Regions from separate parts of the Homo sapiens genome. Here all the other regions are linked to region 3. The links are contacts of gene promoters, found by promoter capture Hi-C in human tissues and cell types (Jung and others, 2019). All regions are on one chromosome and are shown on one strand. Each heading gives the region's core, a stretch centred on a gene start or on the middle of the fragment in contact. The rest is flanking DNA. Distances are from core to core; before and after follow the strand shown.

Region 1 (5,065 bases), core at 2,067-4,566, 67 kb before region 3:
TGTAAATAAGATTTTATTAGAATGCAGCCAAGCTAATTTATTAATGTGTTTTTATTAGCTGTTTTTGTGCTGCAGTGTCAGAGTTGAGTAGTTTTGACAGAGATCATCTGGCCTGCTAAACCTAAAATATTTATTTGACCTTTGAAGAAAGAGTGCTAAACCCTGGCCTTAACTCTTTAAAGCAGAGGCCTTTTTATTGGGGCCCAACTGAGAAAGAAAGGAGCGGTAGCACCTGTTCCTCCAGTCTCCTACTTTTTGTCTGTAGGCAGGTTATTTCTTATCCAGGGCACCTTTCCTCAAGGAACTATTATTTGCAATATATGTGACTGGCAGTGGGTGTCATGGTATCAACTTACTGGATCCTGACTTAACTGCCTCTGTCGGTCAGAGTTCCAACAAGAAACAGATGGCAACACTCAAATTGAGGTAATTTTAGGAGGGTTTATTTACAAAGGGACTCATAAAGGTATGAATAGGGTATAGGAAAACCACAGGTTTTGCCTACTAGGTCATGCGAGCCTAGTGCTAGCAGCAGAGCAGCAGAGCTGTTATCATCTCTAGGCCATAAGGGATTAGGAGAGAGAGAGGTTACTGGATCTAGAAAGAGATACTGTTTATAGAATACGCTACCTTGAGAAGAGCAGTGAGCTTCATTGAAATGACGAAGGCAGCCCAAGGTGGCCTTATAGAAAGGGAGCAGGAATAAGTGTATATCCTGACTTCATGCTTCTTCCTTTCCTTGATATGCCAAGACTCCCATTGGATTGAACCCAACTGAAGCCCTACTGATGTATATCAGGTCTGGGATTTGACTCTTACAAGCTAGTAAGTTAGTCTTACTGTGTCATGGATGCTAGCAGAAGACAAGACTGCTGGGTCAGAGACAAAGGACTTTATTACTCACAGCACAGGAAGCAGTATGTGCATCAGCATATTGTGTTGGTTCTCATTCACCCTAGTTCCCATTGGGGTGATATGGTGGACCCATATGGATGCTGCACATGCCTTAGGTTTAGGTTGCAGCTGAGGAACACTGAGCTTGGGGAATCCGTCACTTTGGTAGTAAGCAGTAATCAAGCCTGTGCTTGTCCCAGAGGGAAACATTACCTCATCCTTCAAGGTTGCTCACTGCAGACACAACCCTGAGAAGCGGCCCAGGTAAGGAGTTTAGGTCAAAGCCTTGCTTTTTTGGTATATACAGCAAGACATATTGAAGGACTGTCTTTTTGCAGCCCATATGGATCAGCATTCCAGGGAGACCAGGGTGAAGACCAGTAGAGGTGGGTTTGGATTGGCAGATGGAAGATTCTGGCATTCTGGGTCCATAGCGTTAAATTCTTATTTGGATTACAGCCGAATCAGCAGTTCTGGCCTGTGATCAGGGTGCAATATTCTTATTGTTCTTTCTCCCATATTTTCTTAATCAGAAGGAAGGACCTACTTCCACAGGACAATCTTCTTTAGGGTTGCAATATTAGAAATTAGTTTCTAGTTGTGTGTGTGTGTGGTTGGCAGCTGTTAACCAATAATACAAGATTTTGCTTTGTTACCACAATGCTCAAAAATACACAAAATCCAAGCTCATAACTTGTTCTCTTTACCGTCTCCAAGTGAAGTAATCATAAAGAACTTTAAGCGATCTATTACAGCATGTTAACTAGTATCCATGTATTATTTTACTTTTAACACACATTATCTTGCTATTTTGTGTTAACTGTCTTCTGGGGAGTGGCCTCCTTATGTACTTTCTATCTGGGATGATATGATCATTGAATGCCTACCTGATCACTGAATGCCTATGGAGTCAGGTAAGCACACCATGATGCATTCTGGGACTAAGGAGGCAGAGAAGCCCTTCCAGAATTGTATTGAGCTTATTTGAGAGTGCTTCTGGCATTTAAAAAAAATATGTATTTTTTAAATAAGCAACTTTTACATGTGATAACTGTGTTGAATGCTTTCATGATTTTGCTTTTAGTAACATACATTGCTGTCTTCATCTTGGGGAACTAAACCAACCACAGGCAAAAATCCTTTGAGCATTGATTGCCACTCATAAAGGCCAGGTGTTCTTACGTATTTCAAATTATAGTAGGCATCTAGTGGCTCTTACCTGCACTGGATGTTTGTTCTATATTCGAGTGGCAGGAATAACTTCCTGTCAGACAGTGCTTGCACAGCAGCTAGACTTCAGGGACTGAAAAAGTTTTGTGGACTGAGTAAATGAATACTTTCCTTTCATGAATTCTAGTTATCACCTGACATCACTTAAACATTGCCAGACCAATAGCTAAAATTTTCATGTAGAGTGCGTTGGTGTAATTAACAAGAGCAAGAAAATATACTTCATTTGTATTTGTGTAGTAACAGGCTCATTTGATCATTGGTTTGTTTTATTTTAAAACTGTGTAGTAGTCATATAACTGCAGTCCTTCCCTTATGGTTTCTAACTTGTCTTGGATTGTTTGCTTTAAGACTTCATATCGTTAAGTAAAGTTACTCAACATTATCCGTAGAGATTTGTGTGGACTGAGTTTATAAAGGAGCAGAATATGTCATTTTAGTTCTAAGGCTTTGATTTTGAAGAAATAGGTTTGGAATTTATTAATTTATGTTAGTTGATGACATCTGCTGGCTGAGGCATAATGTAGCTCAGCTTTATTAGAAACTGTGAAAACCACGCCTTGAAAAGAAAGTAAATGAGAGCCTGATGCTGTGACCTGTGTGTGAAATCTGAGAATTCTTCAAACTAGCCAATTCTTAAGGACCAGAGGAAATCCAAGAGCAGAAGGAAAGACCCAGGAATCAAGAGGAAAGGACTTGTGGTATGCTAGATGGCCATGGGCTATGATCTCACCCTCTATCATTTTAGATTTCAAAGTTAAAATATTTTAGAGGGCACTTTTCCATTTGATTTATTATAAAATTGTATTTCTGGTAAGAAATAGTATTTGCTTTACAAAAGTTTATTAACCAGTTTTGTTTGAGCTGATCAGATAGTGAAGGTAACTCTTATTACTTTTGATTTTAATCATCTCAGAGGGGACATGTTCAGAGGTTTATTACTGACATCAGATAGTATGATTTATGAATATGATATATTTACTTGTCTATTGTAAGAGTGCAGCTATTTGGTGATATTTAACATTGAGTTTTTACTGTGTGGTAGACATTGCTTTAAGAAATTTACAAGTGTTACGTCATTTACATCTCTCAATAATCTTATAAAATAGGCATTATTAAAATTTTTCTGATGAGGAAAAACAGGTCAAGAGAAGTTAATTTGCGCAAGGTTACTCAGCTAATAAGTGTTAAAGCTTGTATTTAGGTCTGGAAAGTACATTTATAGGAGTAGATCATCTGAAAAGGAAGCATACCCCAAGTCAAAAGGGAAGCATCTGATATCTTCAGCCATTTTCGTAGTCAAATATTGTCTTTTTCTTTAAATTTTTTTTCTATTTTCACTGGTTATAGTATTAAATCTGCCTTTAACTTTTTCTGTTTTTGCTTTTACATGGAAGTTTTACACTTTTAGTAATATTTTTATTTTCAATAAACTATATTTGAGGGATTCTCTACTTTTAAATTTTTAATTATTTTGTTTTTTAAAAAATTAAGGAATACTTCTCATAAATAATTTTAAAGTACATAAATCTCAATAAATTTTTGCATACGTATACACCCCTGTAGCCACCACCTAGATCAAGATACAGACAATTTTTAGCACCCTGCGAGGCTCCCTCCCTGTCAGTACCCTCACCATCACCTAGACCCTCATCCCTGTGTAACCATTTTCCTGACATCTGTTTCCATTTGTGACTTTTACCTGTTTGATGACTTCCTATAAATGTGATTGAACACTGTGCGCCCTTGTGTTTGACCACTTTCAGTCAGCCTTAAGTGTATTAAACATCCAGGTAGTTGTATATATCAGTACTTTGTTGGTTTTTTAATGCTGTATAGTATTCCAGCCTGCGAGTATACCACAGTTTATCCATTTCTGCTATTCATGGCTATTTGGTGTTTTCAGCTTTGGGCTACTGCAAATCAAGCTGCTGTGAACATTCTTGCACATGTCTTTCAGTAGACATAAGCACTCATTTCTATTGGTGTATACCTGGGAGTGGAATTGTTATTTCATAGAATATATGTACGTTTAGCTTTGGTAGGTGTGACAAATATCCATATATTTTTCTAAATTTATTTTGTATACTGATAACCTATGATTTACCAGAATATTTTCATTTCTGTTAATAGTGTTTTAAAAAACCTTTGGGAAGGGGACCTAATTAGGGAAATAGTATTCAGATTGTTATACCAATCTATAGGTAGTGCTATGTAGAAAACTTTGTTGTTTTTTACTTATTACTTTGTTAATACCGATTTCTACCTTGTTCATAGACTAATACTAGGTTCTGTAAGAGAAAACAATGAAGTACAGCCCTGCTTAGAGAAACTTGTGGTTTAGTCAGAAAGGCAGGAGGATGAAAGATAAGCAATATAAGGCAGTGTGTCAGTGGCATATGATTTCTATAGACAATATGTGCTCTAGGGTGGTGAAGAGTAGTCACTAGACTGGAATGATTGGATTGGAAAAGGCTTCATGGAAGAAGAAAACTCAGATGAGCCTTGGTGAGTGGGTAGAATTGGATTGGTAGGAATGGTTCATGAACAATGTTATTGGAAGGTGAGAAAAGCTTGTTGGGTAACTAAATTGGCCTGCCTGAAATGAAAAATTGGAGTTGGGAGTGATGGGGCGATAGTTGGAAAAGTAGCTTGTGGTCAAGCTTTGGAAACTTTAAATGCCAGGCCAAGATTTTGTTTGTTTGGTTGGTTTTGTTTTGTTTTGTTTTTGAGGACCCAAAGCATCAGAATTGTACAAACTATTCTCTTTCCTATTGCATTTTCCCTTGAGAACATGAACTGACAAGGAACAAGGTGAAGGAGTTTGACTGGACTTTAGGGATAATATAACTCCCTTAAAAGAAGTGTTAAAATGAAGGAGAGATTTTACAAATGGCAAGTAGCATAAAAAATGGGAATTGTAAAGAATTAGTATAGATGA
Region 2 (4,471 bases), core at 805-3,304, 72 kb after region 3:
GGAAAAGCATGAAAAATGAAGGCAATGATAATTTGTATATATAATTTTATTTTTAAAAGTACATACATAGAAACAGATTGGAAAAATATTACAGAAAATTATAGTATTTATATTGGGGGAAAAGTCATTTGTAATCGTACTCACGACCAAACTTTTAGCCAATATTGTTTATTTGTTTATGAATGACAAAAGATGATGAGACAAGGGAACTCGGGTGAGTTCAACATTCCTGTAAAGAGTCAGAAACCAAGACACTGTCTGTCTAGCAAAGGAGTAAGGACAGCTATGAGAACATGTCCAAAATAACCCGGAGTGTGAAATAACAGGTTCCTGGACAGAGGGGACATGAAGCCTGAGCTTGGCCGGAATAGGGTGAATGTGGCCGGGGAAGATACCTTTGTCTTTTGTTTTTCTAGAGGCTTGGTATCTGTAACCAAATTTATCCCTGAGCCCGAGACACAGGAACAGGGCCCATGAGTCAGTGTTTCTGTGGCAGCCTTCTGGGTCAGTGCCTACACAGGCAGGGCAGGCACCAAATTTGACACAGCTGCATGGGGAAGATATCTTTGAAGTCATGTCTTGTGTCTAGACTTAGGGAGACATGGGAGTGATTAGGGTAGAGGTGGCCTTATGTATAGCCCGGCTCCCCTGAATAGTCCCAGCATGAGTATTCAAAGAGCCCTTTCCATTCTCAAGAGCTCTCATTTGGATAATATGTTATGTGGTCACCCTAATTATTGAAAAGGAGGTTGGAGGACATTCTGGGTTGATGACAGTTGCTCTGCTGGTTGCCTCTAGTGCTTAAGAGGCCGTGAATTGTCCGGGCATGGTGGCTCATGCCTGTAATCCCAGCACTTTGGGAGGCTAAGGCAGGCAGATTGCTTGAGGTTGGGAGTTCGAGCCCAGCCTGGCCAACATGGTGAAACCCCGTCTCTACTAAAAATACAAAAATTAGTCAGGCGTGGTCGCACATGTCTGTAATCCCAGCAACTCGGGAGGCTGAGGCAGGAGAATCGCTTGAACCCGGGAGGCAGAGGTTGCAGTGAGCTGAGATCACGTCACTGCATTCCAGCCTGGGCAACAGAGCGAGACTCCATCTCAAAAAAAAAAAAGAGAGAGAGAGACAGTGAATTAAGATTCCCTGACGCAGAGGTGGGCCCAGCCTGATGGAGAAGTGGCCCAGGTGTTGTAGATGAATACAGTTCTGCTGTCTATCCTGATTAAGATAACCAAGGTAATTATTCCCAAGCTGCCCCAGCATGTGGCTAGAATTCATATTTAACTTTGACCCAAGAGCTCCTTTTCCCCTTGCAGTCTTCCTCCCCCATCCCACAAACCTGGTACATGACCATTAAAATCTCAATAAGCAGAAGCTTAAGTAAGGGTAAATAATTTGCCAGCTGAACCTTCCCCTATTTGCAACCTTTTAGCATTAGCAAGTTCTTGACTTTTCATGAAAAAGCCCTGGTATGGCTAGTGCAAAAATCAGTTCAAATGGTAGAGGATGATAACTTTAAGCAGATAGGGACTTGGCCTGAGTGGGCTCTGTTTACTTCCTGCTGTCTGCCCTTTCTTCTATCGGCTCTGTCAAGGCACGTTTTTTGGGAACCCCATTACTGAGCAGACTGCCAAGTTGACCATCAGTGATCTAGCCTGGGAGCCAAGCCTAGGTTCATCTTGCAAGAAAAGTGGGGTGGGATTGTGGAGAAGGCCCCCTTCCCTGTGCCCACAGGAGAATTGGTGTGACCCTGAGTGCCCCAATATGCCTGGCTGGACATCTTGGGAGCACTGCGAAACAGGAGGTAAAGACCTTCACAAAGTATCTCCTCACAGACAGCCTCAGCTCAGTGGGGCCCCCAGTCAACGGAGAAGCCGTGACAGGCACAGCTGACTGGATGTGTGAACAAACAGATTAACAGTTGGCCCTGCATCAGGGATTTCCAAAGTAAAGAGACATCTAGGTCTTTCATAGATGTTTTGTTCAGTTGGTTGGTTGAGGGACACAGGTGACAAGTGTTGGGGCAAACTCTGGCTTTTCCTGGACTTAAGCAAGAAATTACCTTTTGGCACCTGGACACTGTTTTAAGTCTCTAGTTAAGAGATAAGGGGAAACCACTGTCTCACTCAAGAGAGAACGCTCTGCTTTAGAGGCCAGGCTAGATATGGAATTGGCCGGGATCTGTGGAGAGGACACCTGAGCAAGCATGGGCTAATGTCAAACCATAGCTTCCTAGAGAGGTTGGGTGGGGAAACCTGACTTTCAGTGGGGGAGAAAGTACCACTGCAAAGTCTTAAACTGAAACAGGTGTAAGCAAGTTGGTTCTGACCGCCCCTCATTTGGTTTAAGCTTACATCACAAGGAACAGGTGCTGTCAATAATGAATTCAGTTTTTCTCTTGAGCCCAGAAGCAGAGCGGGATGAAGCCATTAAGGTGATAGAACCCAGCCCTGACTAATAGGTATGAGGGGGAACAGAACTGGGGGGCAAGAGTTCTTCAGTGTAGGCGTCCTGAATCTCTATCGCTGACTCTGAGAAGTCCCAGGGGTCTGCTTTCTCTAAGAACAGTTCCATATTGGGTAATGACAAAAAACCAGAGTGAGATTAAAAATGGATTCTTTATATTGAGCGTTAATGATAAAAGCTCCAGGTGATAGCATTCTGTTCAATGTTATATAACTGTTAGAAATGGGGGTTAGTAGTTAGAAGTGAATTGTTAATTTAATAGATATGTTTTTATAGAAAAATGATACAAATAAGTATGTGAAGTACTGCTTTCTGGCCTAATCAATCACACCTGGAGGGGCCTAGCTGGCTGGCTGCTGTGTCCACCAGGTAGAAGCTTACCTAAATTGCTTGAAAGAAAATGTTCTGGCACTAGAATTGCCGTTTCAAAGCTTTACAGGGATGATAAACAACATACTGCTCTTCAGAGCACTATACCAATCTTGTTACTGTTGGCGAGAGAGAGCATCTAACACTCAATAAATGCTAGGCACTCCAGGCTGAATGCTAAAAAAAATGAACTGCTGCCTTTGTTTAGCACAGTGTCCCCGGTAGGGTGTGGAATTTCAAGTTCAGGAGTAGACAAGCATGAAGGGTTTTAGGGCCTTTGAACAGGTCAATGCCCCATTAGCTTTTTAATTTTCCATCCCACTTTCCTGGCTCCTGGGGCTCTATTTTTCTCTTTGATAATCTGTTTTCTCCAATAGGATTCCAAATTCCCTATTGGAAGTTGAGCCTCATATCCTCAAGGCCCATGATCCCTGAGCCAGGTATGAGTGCAGCTAATAGCTGATGGTGGTCCATTGATCTCCCTGTTGGCCCTGCATTTGCCTGTACTTCCCCCTTGCAGCTGATGGAGGATCCTGTGTGGAAGGGCTCCCTCACCCCGAGTGCAAATGGCTCCCTGTTTCAGAAAGGGTTGAGAGGGGACACGCACTTTCTCCTCTCCACTGGAAACCAGCTGAGCTGACACCTCCGAGCAGAAGTTCCTCTTTGTGTTCCTGCTGATGGGCTGTGCTCTCAGTTGATCATTGGTTTTTTCCATACCTTCTCCAGGTTCTCAGAGGTCACCATTTCTTTCCAGTTAGCCCCATTCTAGAAGAGATTTAGGGCTGGGAGAAAAGGAGAAACATGTGTTAGCCTCATTAGTATCTTTGGTGAAGTGTGAGGAGAAAAAGGTAGCCATGATTGCTAGAAAAATGAGACTGTTAAGGGAGAAAAGTGTGTCGATCTCTGTTATCACCCATCATTGCAGATGGCAAAAATCAGTTGTTCTCAGCAACATCACTGACTGCCCTGCAGACAACCTGGAACTGGAGGGTGTCCTTTGGGAGACAGGCAGGGCATGGTGTGGAAGGGCCTGTGTGAGTCACATGAGGACAGCCAAGGGTCTGACTGGACTCCCGGCCAGTCCTGCCACAGGCATTGCATGCAGCTGGTGCTTGAGTGGGTTCACCTGCCTACCTGAGGAGCACGACAGGGAAGGTGAGAACTGTCCTGAGCCTGTTGGGGGGATTGTTCATCTAGAAGAGACATGACTGGCATCCCCATTGGCAGAGCCAGGGCCAGGCTTAGAGCTGGCTTACATTTCCTCATTTTGTATTCTATTGAGCGCCAGAAATGAAGCAGAGAGGGCTGAACCCTGACACAGTGGGCCGGCCCAAGCCTGAGATTGAGGCCCAGAAAGGCCTAGGCTCAACAGACGCCAGCTCCAGACCCAGGGCCACCCTGCTCACCCATGGCTCACAGGGAGATGCAGATTGAACTCTTCGTTCCAGAGAGTGGCCACCTTGATTGGGAAGGGAAGCAGGGGCAGGGGAGGAGAGGGAAGTCACAGGGAGACTATGGGAACCACGGGAAACACGGCCATTCTGTCCTGAGGTCTGGGGGAGGGGCCTATGTCCGCGTTTCACCTACAGCACTTATGTCATTGTATTGGGAGGAGGTAGTTGAACCTCTCACCTTATT
Region 3 (4,537 bases), core at 840-3,339:
TCTGAAAGAAAAGAAAGAAAGAAAGAAGGAAAGAAGGAAAGAAGGAAAGAAAGAAAGAAAAAAAGAAAGAAAAAGAGAGAGAGAAGGAAGGAAGGAAAGAAAAAACAAAAAAACTAGAGCTTCTTGGAGAAATGGCTGATTCCAGGTTTGAGGCAGCAAATGTACAGATGTGCCTGGAACATCTTGTCATATCAGATAGCAAGGAAGCTATCAAAGACTTCTAGGGTCTTTGAAGCTCTTTGCACACTAGTGAGAGAGAGAGAGAGAGAAAAAAAAAAAGACTACTAGAATCTTATCAAAAGGAGCCAGGAGCCATATTGAAGAAGCTCCTACTGGCCAAAGATGGGACAATTTGAGCTCTAATATCGTAGATGGAAACCTATCAAATATATTTAAATTCATGAATTTATAATGATATTAAAGAAATCTAAGAATGACAGAGAATCAATTCCTTAACTTGAAAACTGGGTAATTTTTTTAAAAAAAAGCAGGTATTCATCGTGCCTTTCCTATCTCAGGGTAATCAAATAGTAGATGAGAGGAAGCATCTCCTTATCCACTTATGAACTAATAAATGAAAACAAAATTATTAGAATACCATGATTTTGCAAACTTCAATTAATTAATGAATCTAGGAATTGAGCATCGACGGCTGTTAACCTCAAAAAAGAGCAAACACCAGACATCATGATCATGTACCTCTTGAAGAAAAGAACACACAACCATCTATAATCTTACAAAAGACATCAAACTTCAGTCTGAGGAAGACCCTGGATCAGCTGCCAACTTGCTGTCAATACAGAGGACAGAGAAACATGCTGAATTGCCTCATGAATGTGCAACCCCCAGACTCTGGAAAACCTCACAGATCAAGGGCTTAAGTTATTTAACAAATAATTGTAAGGAAAAGACTGAAAAGGCAAATCAAATTAAAAAAAAAAAGAGTGGGGGGAGGGGTAAGGTGCACCCTTGGAAGATACCAAGAAAAACAAAAGCAGCAGAAGTGACTACATGAAAGTCAGGTTAGTGGTTACTTTTGGGAGGAGGGAGAAAGGGGGTTGTCATTGAGGTAGGGCACATGGAGAGGCTCCTGGGGTGGCTGGCAGAGTTCTATTTCTTGATCCAGGTGGTGATTACAAGGATGTTCCCTTTATAATAATTCACTAGTCTATATATCTATATATTTGTTTTTTGTGGTTTTCTGTATTTATGTTTTATTTTACAATTAAAAAATTTTTAAAAACACTCCTTAACCTGCAGTAAACAGTTTTTTTAAAAAAAACAAAAGAAGGTCCAAGTGAAGAGATCAGAAGCTATAAAATATTTCATATTGGGTGCAAACTAAATATAAAGCAAGCCAAAACCAGAAACACCTCCTCCCCCTCCCCTCCCCCCCCTCCCCTTTCCCCTTTTTTAATTTAAAGAACTTTGTAGGTATCTTCCAAACCAATGAGAGATTCTTAACACACACAAAGGGAGGATGTCAGAGGAACCATGGGGCTGAGTTGCACCACTGGAGGATGTCTGAAAAAAACTACATAGACAACCTTCCAGCACTAAAACTTTAGCCCCATGGTTCCGCTGACATCTTCATTTTACAGATTAGAAAACTGAGGCCCAGAGGCAGCCAGTGTCTCATGCACGCTCACGAAGCTAGCATCAGACCCCGACCTAAGGCCTAGGTCTCCCAGTGTAGGACTAAGACACGCACCAAGACAGTACCAGCCCGCTGACCGCCGCCTGCGAGGAGTTAACTGGGGCGGTGCAGGATAAGTGCGAGGGGGGCCCGGGTCTGGCGCTAGGTTTGGCTGCGGATTCTCCGCTCCGGACTCCGAGGCAGAAGGCGGGTGGGCGTGGCGGGAAGGGCAGCAGGTCCACTCCCCGAGCGCTATGCAAATGTCATGCAAATCAGTGCATGGGGGCTGGAGCGGGTGGTTTGAGTCCTGACCCCGTAGCGCCGCGCTCTCACTCGCTCTCCTCAGCGCGCGTCCGCTCTCCGCTCTCCCACTTGCTCTCTCTCTCGCCGGTTCGCTCACCCCCGCCCCGCCCCGCCCCGCCCCGCCCTGCCCAGTCCCGGACGCGCCTCGCGGGCTCCCCGCGCCGCCCGGTCGGCAGCAGGGCGCTGAGCGAGCTCGGAGCCCGCGCTGTGCGCCTGCGGCCGGGGCGCCCCGCCGAGCGCCGGTGCCCCGGCTCCCGGGCCGCCTTCGCCGCGCGGGTGAGTGAGCCCGCCCCATGCTTTTGTCCAGGCGCGGGCCCTGGAAGTCAAGGCTCCGAGGGTGGGAGTTCTGGGTGGGGGCTGGGACCCCCACCGTCTGTGCCTCCCGACTCCCCTAATGGAGAGGGGCCCCGGGGTGCGGCGAGGAGTCAGGGGCGTAAGGAGACGACCCCAGTGACGCCAGGCTGCACGAGTTTTCTTTTGGGGAGATGAAGTGCTTGGGGACACTGATGCGATTGCCTTTCTAGGAATCATCCGAAGGGGGTGCCTTTGATTTGAGGGGCGGAGGAGAAGCGGACCCTTCTCCCAGCTCCCAGACCCTCGCTAGAGGACTCGGTGACGGCCTCTGGGAAGGGGGTGCCACGTGAAGGTCCTTCCAGCCCAAATGTGATTCCGGGAAGGTAGGGCGGGGAAGGCGGCCCGCGAGTGCCAGACCTGGCCATCCCAGGCGAAGCTGGGGCGCGGGCTTTGCAGACTTGTTCCTACTCCATACTCCTCATTTAAGCTCCTTACCTCGCTCTGCCTCCTTCGCGTTAACTGGGGTCCCATTGTTGAGGGACCTTGTTCGCCGATGATTGCAGTTGGAAAGTTTTGGATAAACTTCTCAGGAGATGTGAGTTGTCAATGGTTGAGGTAGACCCCTCCCTGGAACTTATGGAACTAAAACCCTTCAAGACCCAAAGGACTGAATTTCTAGGAGTGGCATTGCAGATGTGAAGATGGGCTGATGGGGAAATGGTTTCAAGGATATATATTTTTTTTAGATTGGGGTGTGTGTGTTGGGGTGCGGGGCACTTTCTATTTCGTAGCCAGAAGGAGAAGACCCAGCTCTACTAGAGTCTAGAGGGAGTAAAATTAGCTGTTGTGATTCAGGGAGCTGGGTGGGTGTAGGGAAACACCTGGGCAGTGGGCATGATGCCAGACCTCAGGCCGTTGGTTTTTACCATCCCTCCTCTCCCCAAGTGCAAAGACCAGAGTATATGCAATGACCCGCCCACCCCACAGCCTTTGAGAGCCTGCCCTGGAGCTGCATCCCCCTTCCAAGAGAGGCTGTGTTCTTCTCCACCTGAATGGAATACTTTTTGTCAAAATGCACTTATCAATAAATTATTTCCAGATGGTGGGCTTAGGAGGACCATTTGGGGAACCCCGCCCACACTTCAAAGAATCAGGAATCAACAATGCAAGTCTCTGGGAGAAGTGTAGGTGCATCTGGTGACTTTACTAGGTTCCTACAAGGCATTTAGGGTTCTAATAGAACTGTTTTCTTTTCTCTTAAATTCTTGACCTCCTTCTCTCTTCCGTGATTCTCTTAGTCTCTTCCCCGCCTGCACACTGTGGGACTGTGGAGGATGATGCTGCTGGCACCACAGTGCTCTAGGGCAGCATGGAATTTTCCTTCCTGCCCAGAGTGAGGTTACCCCTTTTTCTCCCACTCTCAGTGGGCCAGGAGCCTTGGGTCTGGGAGGAACCTGAGCAGTTGGTCCTGGGTCCGGAGTGGTTGGACTCTGGATGCTGGATTGGGTAGCGGGTACTCTGGGGACATGCACAAGAGCTTTTTTTGCCAAGATGTGCAGGTCTGTCTCATTGTTCACTGATGATACAAAGGATGCTGGACCTCATTTGCAGCTAAGCATGAGCTTGGAGAACCACCCCACAGTGGGGAAGCATTTATGCTGGTTTATCTCCCATGTTCAGTTTCTTTTGTGTAATAACTGGCTAGCTGAGGAGGAGGGTAGCTGCAGCATTGTAGATGTTTCCTTGTCTTATTTTTATTTTTATTTTTTATTTTGAGACAGGGTCTGGCTCTGTTGCCCAGGCTGGAGTACAGTGGCGTGATCTCAGCTCACTGCAACCTTGACCTACCAGGCTCAAGGAATCCTCCACCTCAGCCTCCTGAGTAGCAGGGACTACAGGTGTGTGCCACCACACCTGGCTAGTTTTTTGGATTTTTTGTAGAGATGGGGTCCTACCATGTTGTCCATACTAGTCTAATGGGCTCAAGTGATCGCCCACCTCTGCCTCCCAAAGTGCTGGGTTACAGGCATGAGCCACTGCACCCAGCCAGAGTAGTTGCTGTTTGTGTGAGGTTTGCTCACCCCTTCATCAGGGGCTGCTTCCCCAGGGGCCAGATCTTAGAAAACATATGCAGAGCAGACTAGGCCTTGGAACATTCCTAGGCTAACTGGTAAGGCCAGGTGGCCCCACCTGCTGCCTGAAAATGGTAGACAGACAGCTACAGTCACTGCAGAGGAGGGGCTCCTGGCTGGCAGGTGGCGGGGGTAATCTGCTGAGAAGGCTTGTCAGAGAAGGAGGTGACCC

What was found. Contacts are between HindIII fragments. The study calls those that stand out against the background at their distance.
Region 1: a fragment that was not itself captured here is called in contact with the fragment with the promoter of MYLK in region 3 in 2 of the 25 tissues and cell types used here (aorta and mesenchymal stem cells).
Region 2: a contact is called between a fragment that was not itself captured here and the fragment with the promoter of MYLK in region 3, in 4 of the 25 tissues and cell types used here (bladder, heart left ventricle, liver and 1 more).

The regions. Positions count from the first base shown.
Region 1 is chr3:123,949,338-123,954,402 of GRCh38, reverse strand. The region is part of intron 5 of CCDC14 (coiled-coil domain containing 14); the gene reads left to right. Among named protein-coding and RNA genes, the nearest start is that of CCDC14, 9.4 kb to the left of the region's middle. The HindIII fragment of the contact is 5,352 bases long and covers 641-5,065 here.
Region 2 is chr3:123,810,158-123,814,628 of GRCh38, reverse strand. The region is part of intron 3 of MYLK (myosin light chain kinase); the gene reads left to right. It overlaps LOC124906346 (small nucleolar RNA SNORA5), which reads right to left and starts at 552; the gene lies at 422-552. The HindIII fragment of the contact is 3,385 bases long and covers 362-3,746 here.
Region 3 is chr3:123,881,884-123,886,420 of GRCh38, reverse strand. MYLK (myosin light chain kinase) reads left to right here and starts at 2,089. Exons shown (of 34, transcript NM_053025.4): 1 at 2,089-2,215. It also overlaps a transcript of CCDC14 not described here. RefSeq lists a silencer at 2,050-2,209. The HindIII fragment of the contact is 8,771 bases long and covers 1-4,537 here.